Regions from separate parts of the Homo sapiens genome. Here region 2 is linked to region 1. Evidence: promoter capture Hi-C in human tissues and cell types (Jung and others, 2019). All regions are on one chromosome and are shown on one strand. The core of a region is centred on a gene start or on the middle of the fragment in contact, and the rest is flanking DNA. Distances in the headings are between cores, read along the strand shown. Region 1 holds the start of URGCP-MRPS24 (URGCP-MRPS24 readthrough). Region 2 has its middle 6.2 kb from the start of STK17A.

Evidence for each region. The method cuts DNA at HindIII sites, captures the fragments that hold promoters and counts their contacts. A contact is called where the count stands out against the background at its distance.
Region 2: a contact is called between a fragment that was not itself captured here and the fragment with the promoter of URGCP-MRPS24 in region 1, in 1 of the 25 tissues and cell types used here (thymus).

Annotation. Positions count from the first base shown.
Region 1 is chr7:43,902,128-43,908,510 of GRCh38, reverse strand. URGCP-MRPS24 (URGCP-MRPS24 readthrough) reads left to right here and starts at 1,915. Exons shown (of 7, transcript NM_001204871.2): 1 at 1,915-1,949. The coding sequence starts at 1,936. It overlaps URGCP (upregulator of cell proliferation), which reads left to right and starts at 1,915. Exons shown (of 6, transcript NM_001077663.3): 1 at 1,915-1,949. The coding sequence starts at 1,936. RefSeq lists silencers at 1,490-1,649, 1,710-2,139. The HindIII fragment of the contact is 12,880 bases long and covers 1-6,383 here.
Region 2 is chr7:43,573,428-43,580,406 of GRCh38, reverse strand. No RefSeq gene overlaps it. Among named protein-coding and RNA genes, the nearest start is that of STK17A, 6.2 kb to the left of the region's middle. RefSeq lists enhancers at 2,446-2,947, 2,079-3,278. The HindIII fragment of the contact is 9,039 bases long and covers 457-6,979 here.

The sequences.
Region 1 (6,383 bases), core at 666-3,165:
AGGGAGATCAGAGAGACCTTGAGACTTCTTCAGTTCAGCTTGTTAAAGTGCCATATTTTGGGGTTATTGGTTTCTGAACCAGATTTTATGTCAGTAAACATGTATTCCTTATGTTTAAAAGAATGCTTATTTAGGCCAGGCATGGTGGCTCACGCCTGTAACCCCAGCACTTTGGGAGGCTGAGGCAGGCAGATCACCTGAGGTTGGGAGTTTGAGACCAGCCTGACCAACATGGGGAAACCCTGTCTCTACTAAAAATAGAAGAATTAGCCAGGTGTGGTAGTGGGCGCCTGTAGTCCCAGCTACTGGGAGGCTGAGGCAGAATTGCTTGAACCCGGGAAGTGGAGGTTGCAGTGAGCCAAGATCTCGCCATTGCACTCTGGCCTGGGTGACAGGGCAAGACCCTGTCTCAAACAAACAAAGAAAAAATTCTTTTAGTTTGATCTCCTTCATTTCATTACTCCCTTGAATCAGGCATTTAGGATTTAGGATTTCCCATTCCTCAAACTCTTCCTAACTCTGGTCCTCCTGGATTTGTCCTTATTTTGGGTGTCACAAGTTCGCGTGGCTTTACCTATCAGCTCCCATTTACAGAGCATTAATTATCTTCTGAACTCAAGGTAGCAGTTATGAATTTCTTTACCGAAGAGGACAAGGAGGCTCAGAAACATTGACTGGATTCTCCCAGGAGGAAAAGAGACCATGCATCACGCAATGTTTACTAACATTTAAAAATAGTTACAAATGTTTACAAATATTAATTCATTTAATCTTCACAGAGAGGAAGGGACTTATTTTTAGCCTTATTTTTCAAATAAGGAACTGTGGCCCTGGAAAGGTTCTATCTTGCAGGGGCTCCTGGGGCTGGTAATTGGTGGAGCCCAGATTCCAACACAGGTATTCTGGCTTCAGAGCTAAGGTTTTAATCACTGCTTTGCTGTCTTGTATTCTTAATAGTAGTAAACATTTTTAAATAGTGGTTGTTAATGATATTTTACTTTTAACTTTAATTTTATTTTTAAAAATGAAACGGGCGGGGCGGGCAGGGGGTCATCTCAATATGTTGCCCAGGCTGATCTCAAACTCCTGGGCTCAATCGATCCTCCTGCCTCGGCCTCCCAAAGTGGTGGGATTACAGACGTGAGCCACTGCGTTCGGCCAGTGATATTTAATATAATACTAAAAATGTTATCAACAATGGTTTACATTGTCCAGAGCTTTTTATTAAGCATTTTCACTTAGATCATTTTTGGAAACTCATTTTGCAGAGAGAAGAACTGAAGCTGAAAAATCTACCTGCCTAAGGACTCATAACTTGTAAGAATAGTTGTGAAACCTCACTGGAGGAACTGCAGATTCATTATTTTTCTTAATAACACACTATAAAGAATAATAAAAGTGCTTCGCATTGCCTAGAGCTTCACAAGGCCACTTTATACACATTTTACAATGGGTACCGTCTCAGAGAGGCCAGCAACTCGTCCAACACAGCACTGCAAGTAAGAAGTAGGAAAGTTATTGTTTTGCTTAATAATAAGGCCTTACGCTTCAGGGCTAAAGAAAAGCCTTTTCTTACAGAAATTAAACTCCAATTACAGAAAGGTGTGAAGTTCAGTAAGGCCCTGGGGCAGGTTATCCTACAGCTTTTGGCACCGCAGGCACCGCCCGGCGAGTTCCGGCCTCCAGGCACCTGGGCAGGTGGGCGTTGGGCGGGCTGCGGGCTGACCTGGGCCGCCCCGCCCCCACCCCGCCCCAGCTGTCCCCGGGCTGCTCCGAGAGGACCCCGGGCCCACCTTACCCCACCTCACCCCACCTCCACCCCTGGAGCGCGTCCCGGAGCGGGCGGGCGGCCGGCGGGCCAGGCCCCTCCCCGGCGCCGAGCCGCGGCCGCGCGGAGGAAGCGAAGGAGGCGGGAGCGGAGACCTCGCTGCGCTCATGGCGTCGCCCGGGTGAGTGCCGCCTCGCAGGCCCTGCGCCCCCGCGGCTGCCGGCAGGAACGGGAGCGGGACCCGGAGCGGCTCTGGCCTGCGGGCTCTGGTCTGGGATGCGGCCCGGACCCGGCCAGGGGCGCCCCCGCCCGCCAGGCCCACCAGGCCCACGGCCCGCTCGCGCCGACCTTGGGCGGACCGGCCGCGCGGGCGTGGGGGGCGGGCGGGGGCGCCGGCGGAGGACAGCGGTCCCCCGGGATGCGGGGGTCCGGGTACGCGGGCCTAGGGGATCCGGGGAGGGCGCGAGGCCCGGAGGTGCCCGGGGCGCGGCGGGAGCGAGGGCCCGGCGAGCGGCTGGGGAACCGGGGTGCGGGTCCTCGCCGCGGCCCGGGGCAACCCGCGGAGGCCTGGAAATGCTTCGCTCCGGCGCCTGGTATCGATGTTCCTGGGTTTTAAACTTGCTCGCGTTGGGAGTGGACGCTTGTTTGCCGCGTCGTTGAGACGTACCCAGAATGTCAGGATCCGGGCAGATGCAGACCCTTTGCTGACAGCCGGAGAGCCGCTCCGGGATCTCCTTGGTCGGGGCCATTGCCTACCGGCCTGCCTTGGGGTGGCTGCGCTTATTTTGATATTACCTCTTTTCAACTTTTTTGATTTAAATGTTATTCCTTTTAGGAAATGATGGCGACACATATAGTTTGTAATTTTTGAGAAAAAATTCTCACTTGGCAAACTAAAACCTCAGTAATTCATTATTTTTTTGTTTTTTGTTTTGATAATTTTACTAGTACTGAAATTTGGGAATGACAGTCCAACACTTTCATTTTACAAAGAAAGAAATTAGGCTCAAGGTCATCGCTTTAGTTGTTAAAATTCTTCTTTGACTGTTACCCATCATTCAGAGGGTCTTGGATCTAGTGGCTGTGATAGCCATTCAGAACAGTTCCCAAAGAGCTTTACAGGTGTGTGTTCAGTGGTAGGGGTGGGGAGGGGACGGTGCTAAGGGGCCGGGATCATGGATTTCGTGCCTCCTCCAGATGAGGCCTGAGCCATGCCCTGGGGTGATTTGGCTCAGTACAGTGGGCCTGAATGAAGCAAGCTGAATTTGAACCCCGCCTGCTGTCTTTCTAGGCTTTGGGGCAGTGGTCATTTCCGGGACCAGGCCTTTTCATTGCCAGCTGACTACCCAGCACTTTGAGCTCATGAATAGAGTAAGCAGGGAACCATCCCTGGGAAGGCCAGGCTGATTGACCTAGGGGTTCAAGGTCCTGCAGCATTCCTTTCCCCCTTGTCAGGAAAGGGTGGGCAGAGCCTCCTGGAGGCAATGTTGAGGGTGGCTGAACCTGTGTGGGGCTGCCCTGAACGAAGCTTTAAAAAAAAAAAAAATAGTGGTGCATTTGGTGCCCAAGTACACTACTTTGTAGACATGGGTCAGAGGTGGACTTAATGCTTCACTGGTGTTTCTGTGAGCCAGTAGGGCTTAAACTGTGTCCCTGTAGTTGGTGACATTTGGTATTTGCGGTTGTGATTATTTGTGTGACCCCCATGAGTCTGCAGTTTGTAATCTATAATTTTCTGCGGGATATCCATTGCAAAAGCTGAGGTCTCAAAACCTTTAGTATACAAGTCATGCACCACAAAATGACAGCGGAGGACCACGTTATATGACAGTGGTCCCATGCACAAATACTTATCATTGTGTTAGTTGCCTACAGTATTCATACTGTAACATGCTGTACAGGTTTGTAGCCTAAGAGCAACAGGCTGTACCATATTGCCTAGGTGCATAGTACACCTTACGATGTAGGTTTGTGTAAGTTTGCCCTATGATGCTCACACAAGGACCAAATTGCCAAATGACACATTTCTCAGAATGTATCCCTGTTGTTAAGTGACTCATGACTGTTGCTTTATTTCATTTTGTGGGGTAAGCTATGCACATATTATGTACACTGGCAGACATAGCTCCTAAGTGTCCACTTCTACAGGCTTCCCTGGTAGATCAGAGTCTAGCTAGGAAGACAGTGCTTTCTGAGACCCTCAGGGCTATCTCAGTCAGCCAGCTAGCAAACATTTAAGCTACTGCACTAGGTATCTTAGGGAGCAAGTCCACAGATAAAGGGCAGGGATGGGAAGGGACTGGTGATCTGGACTGGGCTAGTCATAGAGGAGTCTCCAAATTGATGTTTTTATTAAGTGACAATCTCCATGAGTTGGGAAGGAAAGAAGAAACGCTGACCATTTTTGAGGACCTTATGAATATGCCAGGCATTGTGCTAAATAAAGGAAATGGCAATCAAAGGATATGAAGGCATCAAAGGAAAAGATGTGTTTGAGAAATGCCCCATGGCCCAGTGTGTTTGGAGCTAAGTGGAGACAAGTTCAGAGGATGAGACTGGGACCAGATGATGGGACCTGGTCCCGTTTGTGGACTCACTGCCCACCACTCGCTGAAGGTAAATGAAACTATTTGCATTGGTGGAGCTCTCAGAGAATCAATGTGACAGCAGTATAGAGACGGCAGAGAGGGCAGAAGACAGGGAGCAGCTCATGCTGCCATCTCCCCTCTTTCGAACAGGCCTCACTCAACAGCTCATCTCTTGTCTTTGCCCCTTGCTTGGCTGTCTCACAACTGCCCAGATCTTCCTTGTCTGCCAGCTCCTCTGCCTGCTCTTTCACTGTTGGGGTTTCCTTGGGCTCTATAATCCATCTCCGCTAGTCCCAACACATGTTCTCTGCATGGTCACATCTGTTTTAGTGGCTTTAACTGTTGTCTGAATCAGAGGTTCTTAACTTAGGCTCCATGATTCATGGATGGGCTTCTGGGGGTCCCTTTGTTCTCTGAAATTGTATGCAGCATTGGGAGTAGTGTGTAATTTTCCTGGGCACAAGGTCTGTAGCTTTCAACAGATTTTCAAAGGGGCTCTTATCCTTAACAATGTTACAACTATTCATCCTAAATTTCCAGATTTTCATTTCCAACTACACTAGATACAGCTCCTCAAGTTTCTTTAACCTGGGTTAGCTGTGTGAAGTCTATATTTTTCAGATTGTTACTGATGGATAATTTGAAAAACAATAAATAAAGATCAAGTATAATTGGCTTTACATAGACCACCGATCTTAAAATCTTAAAAAGATTTTAAATAGTCACTTATTCTTATCAGAGTGACAGCTTTACAGAAACAACTAGCATCCCTCCTCCCTCCCATCTGAGTTTGGGGGGGTACCCTGACAGATGTTTTCCTTTGCATTTACATACTAAGTTTGTTCCTTGCTCTGTTTTTACATAAATGCTATCATACTGTTCTGCAGCTTGCTTATTTGCCCAACAATATGCCTTGAAATTCTTTCCATGCCAGAACAAGGAACAGATCCACATACATTTGTTTTTTGTTTTTGATTTACCTACATTTTTTTTCTCTCTTTCTCTTTCTCTCTCTCTCTTTTTTTTTTTTTTAATAGCAGTGGGGGTCTCATTATGTTGCCTATGTTGATCTTGAACTCCTGGGCTCAAGCCATCCTCCTGTCTCGGCCTCCCAAATTGCTGGAATTATAAGCACATTACACAGTGCCCAGTCTACCTACATTTTGACAGACATATAATATTCCATGGCATGGTTACATTATTCAGTTAAGAATGTTCCCGGTTTTCTCTAAGATAATGCTGCCCATCTGTGTCTCACTCTGGACATGTAGAGTACCTGCAAAGACTTGGACTGCTTGAGCAGAGGGCCTGCTTTTGTTTTTTGTTCTTCCTGCCTGTTGTAACTTGATGCTGCCAAATGATCCTCTTAAATGATTGTACCACCTTCCCTGCCACCACCAGATTTTAAGGATTCTCTGTACCTCCCAACACATGATGACATCATACATGAAAAGTTTTGCCTGCCTGATGGAATAATTGAGTCAAGAAATAGGATGCTAATGGCATCTTCGCTTACCCGGTCTTTAAAGATAGAAACTTCATCCCTGACCTCTGTATTCCCTTAGAAAGATTCCGCTTTTTTCTTTGATCCAGTGGGTAACAGCAAGTGAGTAAGTTGATCTCCATAAGTAACTCTCACTCCTCAGCGCTTTGTTTCAGAAAATATGGTCCCTTTCTGGCCAGGAGAAATGGAGTAAGACCTGCCCTAGAAGGGAGGAGCTCGGACACAGAATGGGTGGAAGGACCTGTGGGGTCCGAGTGGGGCTGTGGAGAATGCTTAGCTATATAGAGGTGGGACTCATGGTAGTGGATGAGGTGACTGAGTGATTGAAACCCAGGAATGTGTGGCTAATTGGGGTAGAGGAGAAGCCATCACTGGACGACAAACCCAAGGCCAGTTGTTCCTCTGTGGACTGAGTCCTTGCCTGAGGAAGGAGGGCACACGCACCTTGGCACCTGCCCCTCTTCTTCCCCCCTCCTCCTCCCTCTCCACCATCTTCTCCTCCCCCTTCCCTTCCCCTCCTCCT
Region 2 (6,979 bases), core at 3,727-6,226, 330 kb after region 1:
ACAATAAAAATAACGTCATGTGAAGTTTAAATATATGTAGAATTAAAATATACACAATAGCAGCACAAAAAGTGAGATAGAGTAAATGAAAGTAAAGTGTTCTAAAGTCCTAGGATTGTATAGGAATTGATAAAAGTACTTGGCTTTAATACATCAATAATGAATATTATAATCTCTAGAATAACAGCAAAAGTAATAGAAAAAGAATGAATAACATGTAAAAAAGAGGGGAAATGAAAAAATAAAAAATAAAAGAAGCAAGAAAGGGAAAAAAGGAACACAGACAAGTAGAAACAAATAGATGATCACTTTGGGAAGCCAAGGAGGGTAGATCACCTGAGGTCAGGAGTTCGAGACCAGCCTGGTCAACATAGTGAAACCCCCATCTCTATTAAAATAAAACACAAAAAACGAGCTAGGCGTGGTGGTGGGCACCTGTAGTCCCAGCTACTCGGGAGGCTGAGGCAGGAGAATCACTTGAACCCAGGAGGCGGAGGCTGCAGTGAGCCGAGATTGTACCACTGCACTCCAGCCTGGGCAGCAGAGTGAAACTCTGTCTCAAAAAAAAAAAAAAAGGTAAATTTTTTAAAACAGGAGGGTTTTTTGGCAAGTACATTAAATATAAATGGAATCTATACTCCAGTTAAAAGGCAAATGCTATGGACAGAATTAAAAATAATATCAATTATATGTTGCTTGTAAGAGACACCTCAAATAAAAGGCTACAGAAAGATTGAAAGGATGGAAAGAATTATGCCATGTAAATACAGGCATATCTCATTTTATTGCAATTTGCTTTATTGCACTTTGCAGATATTACATTTTTTACGAACTGAAGGTTTGTGGCAACCTTGCATCAAGCAAGTCTACCAGTGCCATTTTTCCAACAGTATGTGCTGTCTTCATTTCTTTCTGTCACATTTTGGTAATTCTCACTATGTTTCAAACTTTATTATTACTATTATATCTGTTATGGTGGACCGTGATCTTTGATCTTTGATGTTATTATTGTAATTGCTTTTGGGTACCATGAATTGCACTCATGCAAAGTTAATTGATAAATGTGTGTGATCTAACTGCTCCACCAATCAGCCCCCCATTTCTCTTCCTCTCCTCAGGCCTCCCTATTCTCTGAAACACAACAATATTGAAATAGACCAATTAAAAACCCTAAAACAGCCTCTAAGTGTTCAAGTGAAAGGAAGATTCCCATGTCTTTTACTTGAAATAAAAGCTCAAAATGGTTAAGCTTAGTGAGGAAGGCATGTAGAAAGCCAAGATGGGCTGAAAGCTAGGCCTCTTGAGCCAGTTAGCCAAATTGTGAATACAAAGGAAAAGTTCTGGAAGGGAATTAAAAATACTACCCCAGTGAACATATTAAAAATACTACCCCAGTGAACATAGGAATGATAAAAATAGTGAAACAGCCTTCTTGCTGATATGGAGAAAGTTTGAGTGGTCTGGATAGAAGATCAAACCAGCCACAAGATTCCCTTAAGCCAAAGCCTAATCCAGAGCAAGGCTTTACCTCTCTTCAATTCTCTGAAGGCTGAGAGAGGTTAGGCAGCTGCCAAAGAAAAGTTTGAAGTTAGCAGAGGTTGATTCATGAGATTTAAGGAAAGAGACTATCTGCATAACATAAAAGTTCAAGGTGAAGTAGTAAGTGCTGATGTAGAAGCTGCAGGAATTTATTTAGAAGATCTAGCTCAAGTAATTGATGAAGAGAGCTATATGAAACAACAGGTTTTCAGTGTAGATTAAATGACTTTCTATTGGAAGAAGATGTCATCTAAGACTCAGAGTTAGAGAGTAAAAGTCCAGGCTTGGCTTCAAAGCTTCAAAGGACAGGCTGACTCCCTTGTTAGGGGCTAATGCAGCTCATGACTCTAAGGTGAAGCCGATGCTCTTTGACCACTCTAAAAATTCTAGGGCCTTTAAGAATTATGCCAAATCTACTCTGCCTATGCTCTAGAAATCGAAAAACAAAGGCTGGATGACAGCACATGTATTTACAACATAGTCTACTGAACATTTTAAGCCCAGTCTGGAGACCTAGTGCTCAGAAAAAAAAAATAGATTCCTTTCAAAATATTACTGCTCATTGACAATGTACCAACAACCCAAGAGCTCTGATGGAAATGTGCAAGGAGATGAATATTGTTTTCATGCCTGCTAACACAACATCCATTCTGCTGTCCATGGAACAAGGAGTAATTTTGACTTCCAAGTCTTGTTACTTCAGAAATATATTTTGTAAGGCTGTAGCTGCCATAGATAGTGAATCTTCTGATGGATCTGGGCAAAGTCAATTGAAAATCTTCTGACCATTTTAGATGTCATTAAGAGAATTCATGGTTCATGGGAGGAGTTAAAAATATCAACATTAACAGGAATTTGAGGAAGTTGATTCCAATCCTCATGGATGACTTTGAGGGGCTCAAGACATCAGTGGAAGATGCTTGTTATAGATGAGCAAAGAAAGTGGTTTCCTGAGATGGAATCTACTCCTGTTGAAGATGCCGTAAACACTGTTGAAATGACAACAAACGATTTAGAATATTACATAAACTTAGTTGATAAAATGGTGGCAATTTTGATTCCAATTTTGAAGGAAGTCCTACTGATAGAGGCAAGAGGCAGACAAAGGCCTAGGCAGATAGGGAAGGGTCCCCGGAGAATCTCCAACTCGCCCCACAAGTGTTTACATCAGATGTTTTGTGCAGATAAGGGAACCTGCACAGGGGACTTGCCTGAGCATGCCCGCAGTGAACTGGAGGCCCACAAGCACTGGGGGAATGGGGTGGAGCCACCAGGAATTCGTGTCTTATGCAGGGGAGGAGCCTGGCTAAGGAGCCTAGATAAGGAGCAAAAAAATCCTGCATCACTACTGTGTGGGTAAAATGCTATCAAACAGCATTGCATGCTACAGAGGAATCTTTTGTGAAAGAAAGGGTCAATCAATGTGGCAAACATCATCTTTGTCTTATATTAAGAAATTGCTACAGCCACCCTAACCTTCAGCTACCACCACCTTGATCAGTCAGTTGCCATCAGCATGGAGGCAAGACCCCTCACCAGCAAAAAAATTACAACTTACTGAAGGCTGAGATGATCAATAGCACTTTTTAGCAATATAGTATTTTAAAATTAATGTATGTTGTTTCGCATATACATTCATTTAAAATGTACAATGTATGTACATTGTTTTTCTAGACATAATGCTATTGCTCACTTAATAGACCATAGAATAGTGTAGACATAACTTATATATGCACTGGGAAACCAAAAAATTTGTGTGACTTGCTTTATTATGATATTATTACTGCAGTAGTCTGGAACTGAATCTGCAATATCTCTGGGTTATGTATGCCTATTGTGCCTAATAGAAAATTGGTTGTACCTATAAAAATATTAGACAAAGTAGATGTTAAGGCAAGAAGTATTATAAGAGATAAAATGCATTAGTGAAAAAAGAATCAATTCAATGCTATCTTTAAAAGATAGTATTGAAATATACGAAGCAAAATGACAGAACTAAAAGGAGAAATACACAAATCTACCATCACAACCTGAGATTTTTAACACATTCCTCTCTGTAACTGATAGAACAAGCAGGGAAAAAAATAGAAAGGACATAGAAGCATTGAACAACACAATGAACAAAATTGACATGATACACATACAACACTACAGAATATATATTATTTTGCTGCAAAAAGAATATTTATTGATTATGTAGTGGGTCGTAAAGCACTTTTCAACAATTTTAAAGGACTGAAATTCTATAGAGTATGCCCTATCATCATAGTGGAATTAAGGAAGAAACCAAATGTCATCTATTATTTTGATATAAAACAACCACAACCAAAAGCCACAATCACAAATAAGTGGAAATTGGCCAATTTACTTCTCATCTATGTTGACAGAAAATGCTGGGAAAAAACATTGCATAATATTCAATACCCACTCATGACTGATTAAAATAGAAGGGAATTTCCTAAACTTAAGAAGATACATCTCTAAAAAACCTACAGAAGTATTATCGTTGAAGTCAGAGGCACAGCAAAGTTACGTGCTATCACGACTCTTATTCAGTGTTGCAGTTGAGAACCTAAATAGTGCAGTAAGACACTCTGGCATTAATATTGGAAAGGAAGAATTTAAATGGTCATGAAGGAATAGTCACAATTGTTAAATGTAGAGAATTCTATATTCTACTTCTAGAATATCCAAAAGAATAAACTGGACCGGGCTCATGCCTGTAATCCTAACACTTTGGGAGACCGAGGTGGGAAGATCGCTTGAGCTTAGGAGTTTGAAACCAGCCTGGGCAACATAGTGAAACCTTGTTTCTATTAATGCTATTTTAAAATGTAATAAAAAAGGGCTGGGTGTGATGGCTCATGCCTGTAATCCCACCACTTTGGGAGGGAGGCCGAGGTGGGTGGATTGCTTGAGGTCAGGAGTTCAAGACCAGCCTGATCAACATGGTGAAACCCCGTCTCTACTAAAAATACAAAAATTAGCCGGGCATGGTGGCGGGCATCTGTAATTCCAGCTACTCGGGAGGCTGAGGCATAAGAATCGCTTAAACCCGGGAGGTGTAGGTTGCAGTGAGCCAGGATAGTGCCACTGCACTCCAGCCTGGGTGACAGCATGAGACCCCATCTCAAAAAAGAAAATTTTAAAATAAAAGAAAATAAATAAATAAGTAAAATGTAATAAAAAAGAATCAACTGAAAAATATTAAAATTAATATATTTTAAAAGACAATTAGGTTTAATAAAAATAAATCAATAGCATTCCTACATAATAACAATGAGATATGAAAGCTAATGGGGAACTATTCCATTTGAATAAAATGAAAATAAAGCATGCAGAAACGACCCTCACAAAAATGCACAAAGCTTATATTTTATTTTAAAGAATGTATCTATTCTAAGAGACATAAACAAATGCTTCAATAGAGATACATAGATGAAAAGATTAGATTCTGTAATTCTTTGGAAATAAATCAGTATCTTTAACAAAATTCTAATAAGTCTCAAAAATATGTCTTTTGGAATGTGTTAAAATTATCTCAGAGTTCATCATGAAGAATATCCAAATGAGTGTAGCTAGAAAATTTTTGCAAAAGAAAGTCGTAAGGAGAGAACTGTCCTAACATATTAAAATACAGTATGAAATAAGATAGCTCAACATAGCAGAATAGTTTTGAAATAGAGTTATAATATTTAAGAAACCACAATAAGCCCCAAATCTTCTAAATCATTAAATGTAAAACAAACAAACAAAAACTACAAAATCTAGAAAGAAATGACACATAACAATTAGCTGACTTTTTCTTTTTTTGTTGTTTTTTTGACACGGGGTCTCACTGTTGCCCAGACTGGAGTGGAGTGGTGCCAGCTCGGCTCACTGCAACCTCTGCCTCCTGGATTGAAGCGATTCTCTTGCCTCGGCCTCCCGAGTAGCTGGGATTACAGGCATGTGCCACCATGCTTGGCTAATTTTTGTATTTTTAGTAGAGACAGGTTTTTGCCATGTTGGCTAGGTTGGTCTTGAACTCCTGGCCTCAAATGATCCATCCTCCTTGGCCTCCCAAAGTGCTGGAATTACAGGCATTAGTCACTTTGCCTGGCCTTGACAATTAGCTGATTTCTGAAAGAAAAAGTAACTTCTAAGAAATAAAGCAGTGGAAAAAAACTCCAAGAAAAATATTTGACTACCTAATAATTCAAAAATCATTGCATATCAAAAAATGTTATATGCAAAGTTAGAAGGCAAACAAGCTGGAAATACATTAGCAAAAAGCATTATAGATAAAAATCATACCCTAAATGAAGAACATATAATAAGAGGTGTGCCAACACTATATTAGAAAGAGGTCAAAGAAAATAAAAGATTTTTTTATAGTGAAATGTTCAAATTTAATTTATATTTCCTGGAGAAATATAAATGGGGTTTCATTTTTGCCAATAAAATTGGCAAAGATTTTTAGGGTAATTCAATGCCCATTGTTAGTGATAATGGGGAGAAAGACTGGAAAGATAAAAACCCAAGTGCTTTTTGTTTCCTTGTGTTGTTCTGATCTGTGTTTTTCTGTATAGAGCGCTATACCTGATTTTATCAGATATTCTTACCTGGCCCACCTGTTTTAATATCAACCTGAGTTTATCTTTATCAAATTGCATTATAAGTGTATACTTTCTTTCTTCCTAGTTAGATCAGAAGGGACCATTTATTCTATATCCTCAGTGTGTATAAGTGACACTTTGTAAATATTGATGAATAGATGTGGTTGAATTGAGTATGCAATGCTCTTACTATCCGAGTAAGATAATGGTTAAATGAATTTTGATATATTTACCTGATAGGTTATTATGCAATACTTTTTTTTTTTTGAGATGGAGTTTCTCTTTTGTTGCCCAGGCTGGAGTGCAATAGTGTGATCTCAGCTCACTGCAACCTCCGCCTCCTGGGTTCAAGCTATGCTCCTTCCTCAGCCTCCCAAGTAGCTGGGATTACAAGCATGCACCACCATGCCCAGCTAATTTTGTATTTTTAGTAGAGATGGGGCTTCCCCATGTTGGTCAGGCTGGTCTCGAACTCCCCACCTCAGGTGATCCGCCTTCCTTGGCCTCCCAAAGTTCTGGGATTACAGGCGTGAGCCACCGTGCCTGGCACTTACATATCAACCTTTTGAAAAAGATTTTTAGGGTAGAAAATCAGTTTTCTTAGGTCAATCTGACAGAAGTTTAATCTAAAAAAAATCAACTGGGCAATATTTTTAAACATACAATTATAATAAAAGTATACTTTGTAAATATATATATATATGAAAAAGATAGATTCACTTATTTTTAGAAGCTAGGTCTTTCAAGTGCTGTAAGCTGCCAACATTCTCATTCGTGTTAAATACTTACAGGCTTCAAGGGACTTGTTTTAGCAAACAAACAAACAAAAAAGTAGGCCGAGC